Regions from separate parts of the Homo sapiens genome. Here all the other regions are linked to region 3. The links are contacts of gene promoters, found by promoter capture Hi-C in blood cells and fetal thymus (Javierre and others, 2016). All regions are on one chromosome and are shown on one strand. Each heading gives the region's core, a stretch centred on a gene start or on the middle of the fragment in contact. The rest is flanking DNA. Distances are from core to core; before and after follow the strand shown. Region 1 overlaps REV3L (REV3 like, DNA directed polymerase zeta catalytic subunit). Region 2 overlaps SLC22A16 (solute carrier family 22 member 16). Region 3 holds the start of GTF3C6 (general transcription factor IIIC subunit 6).

Region 1 (2,700 bases), core at 186-2,685, 520 kb before region 3:
GTTCTATAAGATAGGTTTTCTGCCCTTTTAAATATAGTGGTGCTGTCTTTGTTTCCAATTGGAATTTCAGTGTAATGCACTGTTCTCACTTCAGATGCAGAGGAAGGATAAAATAGTGAAGTTGATATGGCCCTGTTCAGCCAAATTTCCGAATCATAAAGTGACATGCTAATAGGATATACTGTGGCATTTCTGTGTATTACAGCTTGTATGGTTTGAGTTACTTTTCCACACATAATTTTTTCTCCTCCACACAAGTCATTAAATATGTTTTCCTGAGAGATAGTCAAGCTTTGTTGTATAGGAAAGTTTCGTTTGTGGAAATAAATGAGTTTCACTGTAAGCTAATGTAATTCTATTACGTGAGGAAATGTTCCTTAAAAAATAAAGAATATTATATACTGTTGTTTTCCTGAATATTTTTTAAAAGACACATTAACTATTTCCTATTTAATCCTTCATGGACATCCCACAATAGATTACCAGCACCTTAAAAAAAAAAAAAAAAACAAAAACGAAAAAACCAAAGACTAAAAACCCCCATTGGGGTTTTTTTTTTGGTACATACTTTGAAATTTATATTTTAAATGAATTAAAAAGTAACACTTTTTATATGTACATTGAAAGACATAAAACTTGATACAGAGAAAGTCAAATTTTAAATTGTTAAGGATTATCAAATTGAATTTGCCATGTAGTTCACAGTTTCCAACAAAATGTTTGTTTCAACAAGAAAAAATTTGAAGTCATTGGCATACATTTAGAGTTTACACTTTTCATAAACCAAGCCAGCATTTTTATTAGCACGTCAGAAACTCCCAGTGAGATTAATATTAATTAAACATAATCAAAAACTGCAGAATTACCTGCTTTTGAATTATCTCCCCAAGGAAAACTAGTCCAATAAAATAAAACTTGAAAATTATTAATATAAAAGAGAGGCCAGTCTGACTTAGTAAAACTCTGAATGCTAGAATTTTTAATGAAGACAGATTTATTTGAAAGTAAAGATGTAAACATAATGCAAAGATATAAACATGGTTTGTATTATATCTTTATAGTTTATATCTTTACTAACAAGTAAAATAAGGTAATAAAAATGTGTAACACATGATAAACCTATGCTACATAAAATAGCATAAACATACTTTTTTCATATATAAGAATTACTTTGGGAGGTCCTTAATGCTTTACTTTGGTTTGGAGAGAAAATGTTTTAAAATTGACTTTGCTTTACAAATGAGATCCTGAAAAATAGCAACCAAAGATATTTTTTCTCAAATGAAGTGGCCGTTTCAAAATTATATTACAAATTCTGAACTGATTGGATTAATACCCTTTTACTAGTTTAGTTTTTCTATTATTGCCTGAAAAGCATTTTTCTGCTTTAGAAAACAGTCCAGTTGACTTTTGATTGTTCTGTGTTTTGAGGACGTATCTTGAGTAATTTAAGAAATAAAGTGTTTTGGGTTTAAAAGCTCCCATGTCTTAAGTTGGTGAAATTTGAAAAGGTATTTTTAAAAAGAGGGATATTCAGGGCTGGGTGCTGTGGCTCATGCCTGTAATCCCAACACTTTGGAAGACAGAGGCAGGAGGATCGCTTGAACCCAGGAGTTGGAGACCAGCCTGGGCGACATAGTCTGTACAAAACAAACAAACAAACAAACAAAATTGGCTGGGCGTGGTGGTGTGCACCTGTAGTACTAGCTATTTGGAAAGCTGAGACAGGAGAATCGCTTCAGCCCAGAAGGTTGAGGCTGCAGTGAGCCAAGATCACGCCACTGCACTCCAGCCTGGGCAACAGAGCAAGAGCCTGTCTTAAAAAAAAAAAAAAAAAAGGCGGGGGGGGATATTCAGATTTGAATGGTAAATCCTGACTGATTTAATCCCTTGCCAACTGAGGATATTGATTCCTAAGGGAATCACTTAAAGTTTCTTCATCTGAGTTATGGAATTTTTTAAAAAACAAAAACAAATTTCCTCTCCATTTTTTTAACTAGTTTTTAAAATGTCTTGAACATTATTTTGACATAATCAAATTGAGCAGTATCATTTGTAGAATAAATTGTTAATTTTTTCTTTTAGAACAACATTTTGGTAACTTGTTTTAATGGAGGGAAGAAAGGTTGTGAATAAAGTATAGGACAATGTTTTTTCATTTAGATTTGAATATAGGTGTGACCACTCAGAGGATTCACTACAAATGAAATCATCAGGCTTCATTTAAGGATTTGACTGAGGTGGACTTGGGAAGCTGTCCATTTTCCACATCTCGACTTTTGCTTAGTTGCTTGATGTAACTCACTTCATGCTGAGTTTAGACAGCTCTCACAGTTTCCTCAGCACCAGGTTAAACAGAACTATCCTTTCAAAGAGCTTCCCTGCTGAGATGCAGAGTAGGAGTAAATAGAAGAGTGTGGGATGTCCACAAAGCAAGGAATTAAACAAAGTAGGCCAGACAGACTATAGAGGGAGCTGCTTGTCTTTAAGATTACTCTAAGGAACTCTGCCACTTCCTCTAGCTTAGTGAATATTTTGGTAGATTGTTCTAGATACTGTTAGCCATGAAATCAAGCTTTTCAACATAAGGAATTGATAATTCTGAAATGCTATATAAGTTTATGTAGATGCTTATCCAATTATAAATATATTCTCATTGTTTATATTTTATAAAATTAAATATAAGAAACTACCAGAATA
Region 2 (2,700 bases), core at 179-2,678, 530 kb after region 3:
GACTTTCTATAGAGATAAGTCCATATAACACCAGCCCAGAGATGCCTCCTCCTTGTCTCCACAAGCAGGAGGGATGTAGGACCTAGAAAATCCATTAGTCAAGAGATAGCATAAATCCTTCCCTAGGAATTTTCCATGCCCACACACCTGCCTGCTGAAATGCTAGGGCAGGCAGCCCTGTGGACCAGGATGGGTAAGTACATTTGTGTTGACTGTAGATAGATTAATGGATATCTAGATGGATGGATGGATGGATGGAGGGATGGAAGAATGGATAGATAGAGTAGGTACACATATATATCTAAGAAAAAAGTTTATCAGACTAATATGTGACCAGGGGTATAGAATAGCAGAGGAATAACTCCCTATGTAATTGTCTATTAGCCCAGTTGTCTGAGAGTAGAGTTTTTCTTCTTCCTCCATACTTCCCCTCTAGGTCACCCAGAGTGCTATTATTAGACCACTCTCGCAGTCTAATAATAAATACATCTTCTGTCCATTTTACAGGTTGTGGAACTGGAATTCACACAAGATTAGGGTCGTGGCCAAAGGCATCTGGCTAGTCAGTGACCCATCAGAACTCAAATCCACATCTTTTGGCCCTATCTGTCACCCAGTGAAATACATGAGAATTTTTATGGGAGACAGTGCTTAACATTAGCGGGGGATAAGTTGCTAGCAGTAGAGCTTTAGTAGCAGAGGGGAAGAAGGTATTTTGGGGTAAGGGCTTTGTGGACTCTTCTCAGATCATATTGTGAAAGTGGCAGCCCTGCACAGATGTACAGTAGCAGACAGGCAGAATAACAGATTACATTCTAGCACTTACAGGCTGACAATGGTGGAGACTAGTTGAATGCAATAGAGAGTGAAGTTGCATAATTGCCAACTTGCGTTGTGGCTTTGGCTCCGTTGTGGCTGACCCAGGGAAGAAGCTGCTCTAAATCAGGGAGAATATCTTTGTCATGTCCTGTGGGACCCTTCTGGCCTCTCAGGTGGATTTCTGCTCAGCCAGGAAAAGCTTCAGATTTTCCCAGTTCAGAATTCAGATTGGACCAGATCCATGCAGTGCCTGGCACATATTAGACTCTTGACACACATGTGCTGAGTGAATGCATGTTATATGCTAAGAAGGTGACAATCCCATCAAATAATGTCAATGTGCATTGCAATTATGAATATTATAGTATTTTTTAAGATCTTTTCTTTGTTGGCTTGGTTGTTGGTTTACAACCACAGGTACATGACCTCAAAAAAATCCAATATGTAAATATTTAATACAGGAAATCTTTAACCAACTCTATGAGCTCCCTAAACACCCTAACACTGCATGCAAAATTTTACTTATGTATGATTTCTTTCTCAGAAGAATGCCATACTTTTTATCAGTTCTTTATAAATGTGTGTGACTGGAAAAGATGAGGCACCGTTAATTTATAGAGGTACTTACTCACATAAAAGGACAGTCTTTCCTTACTAACATTCTATACATTTTCTCTAAGTAACCTTTAAAGAAAAGCACATTAAGATATTCCTTGACTCTAAAAAGTTGAAATAGAACAGTACACAGGTATACAGATACTTTGTTCTCTCAAATTCCCACTCCCTACCTGAAACAAATTCCTGCTCTAGAAGACCTTATTATTCTTAATGTTAGGCTGGATCAGTACACACAAGGGCCTCACCTGCACAGCAGATGAAGAATGGCTTACCTCCACACTCCTACCTCTTTTTTGTCATGAATTGTCTTGAATTATGTGCATGCTTATATACACCACTGTTTCACAAAATGTAGGTATTGTGATTCTTGAAAAATTTAAGTAAAATTATTTTCAAGCTTACGTTTTTTTACGGTCATGTGTTGCTTAATGATGGGCACCGTTTTGAGAAATGCATCCTTTGGTGATTTCGTGGTTGTCAGAACATCATAGAGTGAACTTACACAAACCTAGATGGCCCAGCATACTACACACCCAGGCTATGTGGCACAGCTTATTCCTCCTCGGCTGTGACCCTCCACAGCATGTTACTGCACTGAATACTGCAGGCAGTCGTAACACAATGGTAAATATTTGTGTATCTAAACATATTGAAAGATAGAAAAAGTCGAGTAAAAATGTGCTATTATAATCTCGCGGGGCCACCGAGGTTGACTGAAACGTTGTAATGCGCTGCCTGACCACCCTTATCCTTGCTGGGGAGCGTGGGAAAGGAGCTGCAGGAAGCAGGTCCCTCAATCCCTGGGTCACTTGTGCCTTACTTGTCTCAGCCTCTCTCCTCTGTTTCCAGATCGCTGGCTGTGGGAAGCGGCAGCATGGTGTGTCGCCTGGCCAGCATCCTGGCGCCGTTCTCTGTGGACCTCAGCAGCATTTGGATCTTCATACCACAGGTGTGCTTCAGTTTGCAGACCCTCCCCAAGGGGGCACGGAGGCAGTTTCTAATTGCCTATTAGCAACTTCTCTATTGTTATTTACTGAAAGCCAGTACATCATTTCCTAATGGGGTTTGTAGAAACAACCCCATTACCAACAGCTGGCCAGTTGGTGAGTAGGGTGGTGGCTGCTGTGCGATTGGCCATTGGTGGCCTTCCACCACTGCTGAGCTGTTCATTACAACTCTGCCTGCCACAAAAGGGCATGTCCTCACCCTTGCCTGGAAGCCAGGCCTGGGGAAGGGAGAGCTCTGGTCTCTGTCCTCCTCAGG
Region 3 (2,700 bases), core at 38-2,537:
TAATTTATTATTATTATTATTTTTTTTTTTTATTGAGATGGAGTTTTGCCCTTTGTTGCCCAGGCTGGAGTACAGTGGCGCGATCTCGGCTCACTGCAACCTCTGCCTCCAGGGATCACGCGATTCTCCTGTCTCGGCCTCCCGAGTAGCTGGGATTACAGGCGCCCACCACCATGCCTGGCTAATTTTTGTATTTCAGTAGAGACGGGGTTACACCATGTTGGCCAGGCTGGTCTCGAACTCCTGGGCTCGTGATCTACCCGCCTCGGCCTCCCAGTATTGGGATTACAGGCGTGAGCCACCGCGCCTGGCCATTTTTTTTTATTATTATTTTAGAGAAGGGGTCTCGTTATGTTGCCTAGGATGGTCTCCAATTCCTGGGCTCAAGTGATCCTCCCACCTCTGCCTCCCAAAGTGCTGAGAATACAGGAATATATGTACGGTTCCATATCACAATGTTACTTCCTCCAAATCTGTAACTTTCTCTTCAGCCACACATTCAAACAGGCAAGCAAAGTTAGCCATTTTCTCCTATCTGCTCCCATAGTCCCCGCTGTACTTCTACATTATACTTAATTACATATTAATTAATTATACTTAGTATACTTCTTATCCTTAGAGTTCACTACTTTGTAAGGTGAAATAAATATATCAATACTTGCGGATAGGTATTTCACCATTGATTCTTGTTTTACATTTAAGACACTCTAGAACAATCCCCCCAAGTCTAGAAAACTCACCAAAACCTTGCATTTATTTTCACATTTTGAGAGGAAGTCTGAATCAATAATTCCTGATAATTCCACCAGAACCAACTGCTCCTGGTGAAAGAAAGAGGGGTTAACATGCTAGCACGCGAGCGGCCAAGAGGGAGCAATTAGCAAAAGAAGCCAAATTTCCCACATTTGTGAAAACCGGACCCTGTTTTCAGCAAGAGGAAACTACGCTACCTAAGGTAACTTCCCGGTACTTCCCATCCCAAGTACGGGGTGACGATTAGGGCTAAGGTCCCAAGCTGCCCGGCTCCTCGCGCCCAGGAGCAAGAAGCCGGTGAGGAGCAGTGGGGCCTCCCTCCGGCCCGCAGCTCCCCAACTCCCTTCCCCACACACAGCCAGCACAGGCATCACCGCCACTGCGGTGCAGGCTTTTGGCGTAGCGCTTACTACCTCCTCTTCCTCGTCTTCTCCGTCCTCTGGACTCCGCTCGTCCGCCGCCGCCGCCATGGTCCCGCGGCGCCTCGCCTTCTAGTCACTGGCCACGCCCGCCCGGAGCCGCCATCTTGAGTACGGGCTTCAGCTCCGAGGCGAAGCAGCTTATTGGGTTCCTGCCGCTCCGCTCCTCGCCGCGCAAATTGCTTCTGCCAGAACTCGAGATGTCGGCTTCCGGCGGGCGGGTGGCTACGGGCGCCGAGAGCGCCGGTACCCACGTGGAGACTCGCCACGGGCCTCCTCGTTTCTCGGTGCCTCAGAGCAGGGGCTGGGGGTGGGCTGCCGTAGGCAGCGGAGCCCGCTCGGTCACGCAAGAGTCGCCGGGCTCTCGGCCCCGCTGGCGGGGAGGACTGGCAAGGCAGAAGGGATAAAGGCGAAAACAAGGAAACCATGGTTTCAGGCGGATCATGGACAGAAAGGCCTTGTGTTTGACCCGAGCACATTTCTTGGAAAGAAATTCTTAATATTGTGTGAGCGCTCATCCTCAATTCAACGTACCCCAAGCCAAGTTAAAGGCACATTCAGTTTAATACTAATGAGCGCCTACACAGTAAAAAGCACTGCACCAGGAGCTATGAAAAATAGAAAGTGGGCTTAAGTTTCAGGCCTGCAGGAGCATAAGATCTGTGAGAGGTACATAAATGGATCCAAGCAAGTGCTGTAAGAGATACACATTGTTATAGGAACACAGAGACCTGGGCAAGAGAAGTTTGAACAGAATTTTCAGAAGTATCCCATAGATGTTTGTGATTGTGAAAGAAACGGTCTTCGTACTTGCGATAGCGTGATCTAGTGGTTAAGATCGTGAGTTTTGGATTTTTATTTATTTATTTATTTGGAGATGGAGTTTTGCTCTTGTTACCCAGGCTGGAGTGCAATGGTGCAATCTCGGCTCACTGCAGCCTCCACCTCCCGGGTTCAAGCGATTCTCCTGCCTCAGCCTCCCGAGTAGCTGGGATTATAGGCATGCGCCACCACGCCCGGCGAATTCTGTTATTTTTAGTAGAGACGGGGTTTCTCCATGTTGGTCAGGCTGGTCTCGAACTCCCGACCTCAGGCGATCCCCCTGCCTGGGCCTCCCAAAATGCTGGGATTACAGGTGTGAGCCACCGTCCCCAGCCTGAGCTTTGGATTTTAATACCAGTCAAGTTCTGCTGCATTATTAACAGCAAGGCTTTGGGCAGATTGGTGGTTGTGAGGATTAAATGAGACAATACATATAAAATAAATTTAGCCCAGTATTCAGCACATAGTAAGCATTTAAAGTGCATTTAATCTATTATTAGTAGTAATATATAAATTTTTTAGTATGATGCTCTTTCTCTCTTTCTTTTATTCATTGTTTGTTTCTTTCTTTCTCTCTTTCTTTCCTTTCTTTTTTGTGACAGGGTCTGGCTCTGTCGCCCAGCCTGGAGTGCAGTGGCGCCATCGTAGCTCCCTGTACCCTCAAACTCCTGGGCTCAAAGGGAGCCTCCTACCTCTGCTTCCTGAG

Evidence for each region. Contacts are between HindIII fragments. The CHiCAGO score rates a contact against its expected background, and 5 or more counts as called.
Region 1: a contact is called between a fragment that was not itself captured here and the fragment with the promoter of GTF3C6 in region 3, in 1 of 17 cell types (naive CD4 T cells). The highest score is 5.1, in naive CD4 T cells.
Region 2: a fragment that was not itself captured here is called in contact with the fragment with the promoter of GTF3C6 in region 3 in 2 of 17 cell types (M2 macrophages and M1 macrophages); the score reaches 6.7 in M2 macrophages.

What each region holds. Positions count from the first base shown.
Region 1 is chr6:111,478,648-111,481,347 of GRCh38, reverse strand. The region is part of intron 1 of REV3L (REV3 like, DNA directed polymerase zeta catalytic subunit); the gene reads left to right. Among named protein-coding and RNA genes, the nearest start is that of REV3L, 3.2 kb to the left of the region's middle. RefSeq lists an enhancer at 1,982-2,700. The HindIII fragment of the contact is 2,284 bases long and covers 294-2,577 here.
Region 2 is chr6:110,430,857-110,433,556 of GRCh38, reverse strand. SLC22A16 (solute carrier family 22 member 16) reads left to right here. Exons shown (of 8, transcript NM_033125.4): 7 at 2,287-2,386. Among named protein-coding and RNA genes, the nearest start is that of DDO, 17 kb to the right of the region's middle. The HindIII fragment of the contact is 816 bases long and covers 1,021-1,836 here.
Region 3 is chr6:110,957,293-110,959,992 of GRCh38, reverse strand. GTF3C6 (general transcription factor IIIC subunit 6) reads right to left here and starts at 1,287. Exons shown (of 6, transcript NM_138408.4): 1 at 1,167-1,287; 2 at 741-821. The coding sequence starts at 1,223. RefSeq lists an enhancer at 965-1,414. The HindIII fragment of the contact is 8,604 bases long and covers 1-2,700 here.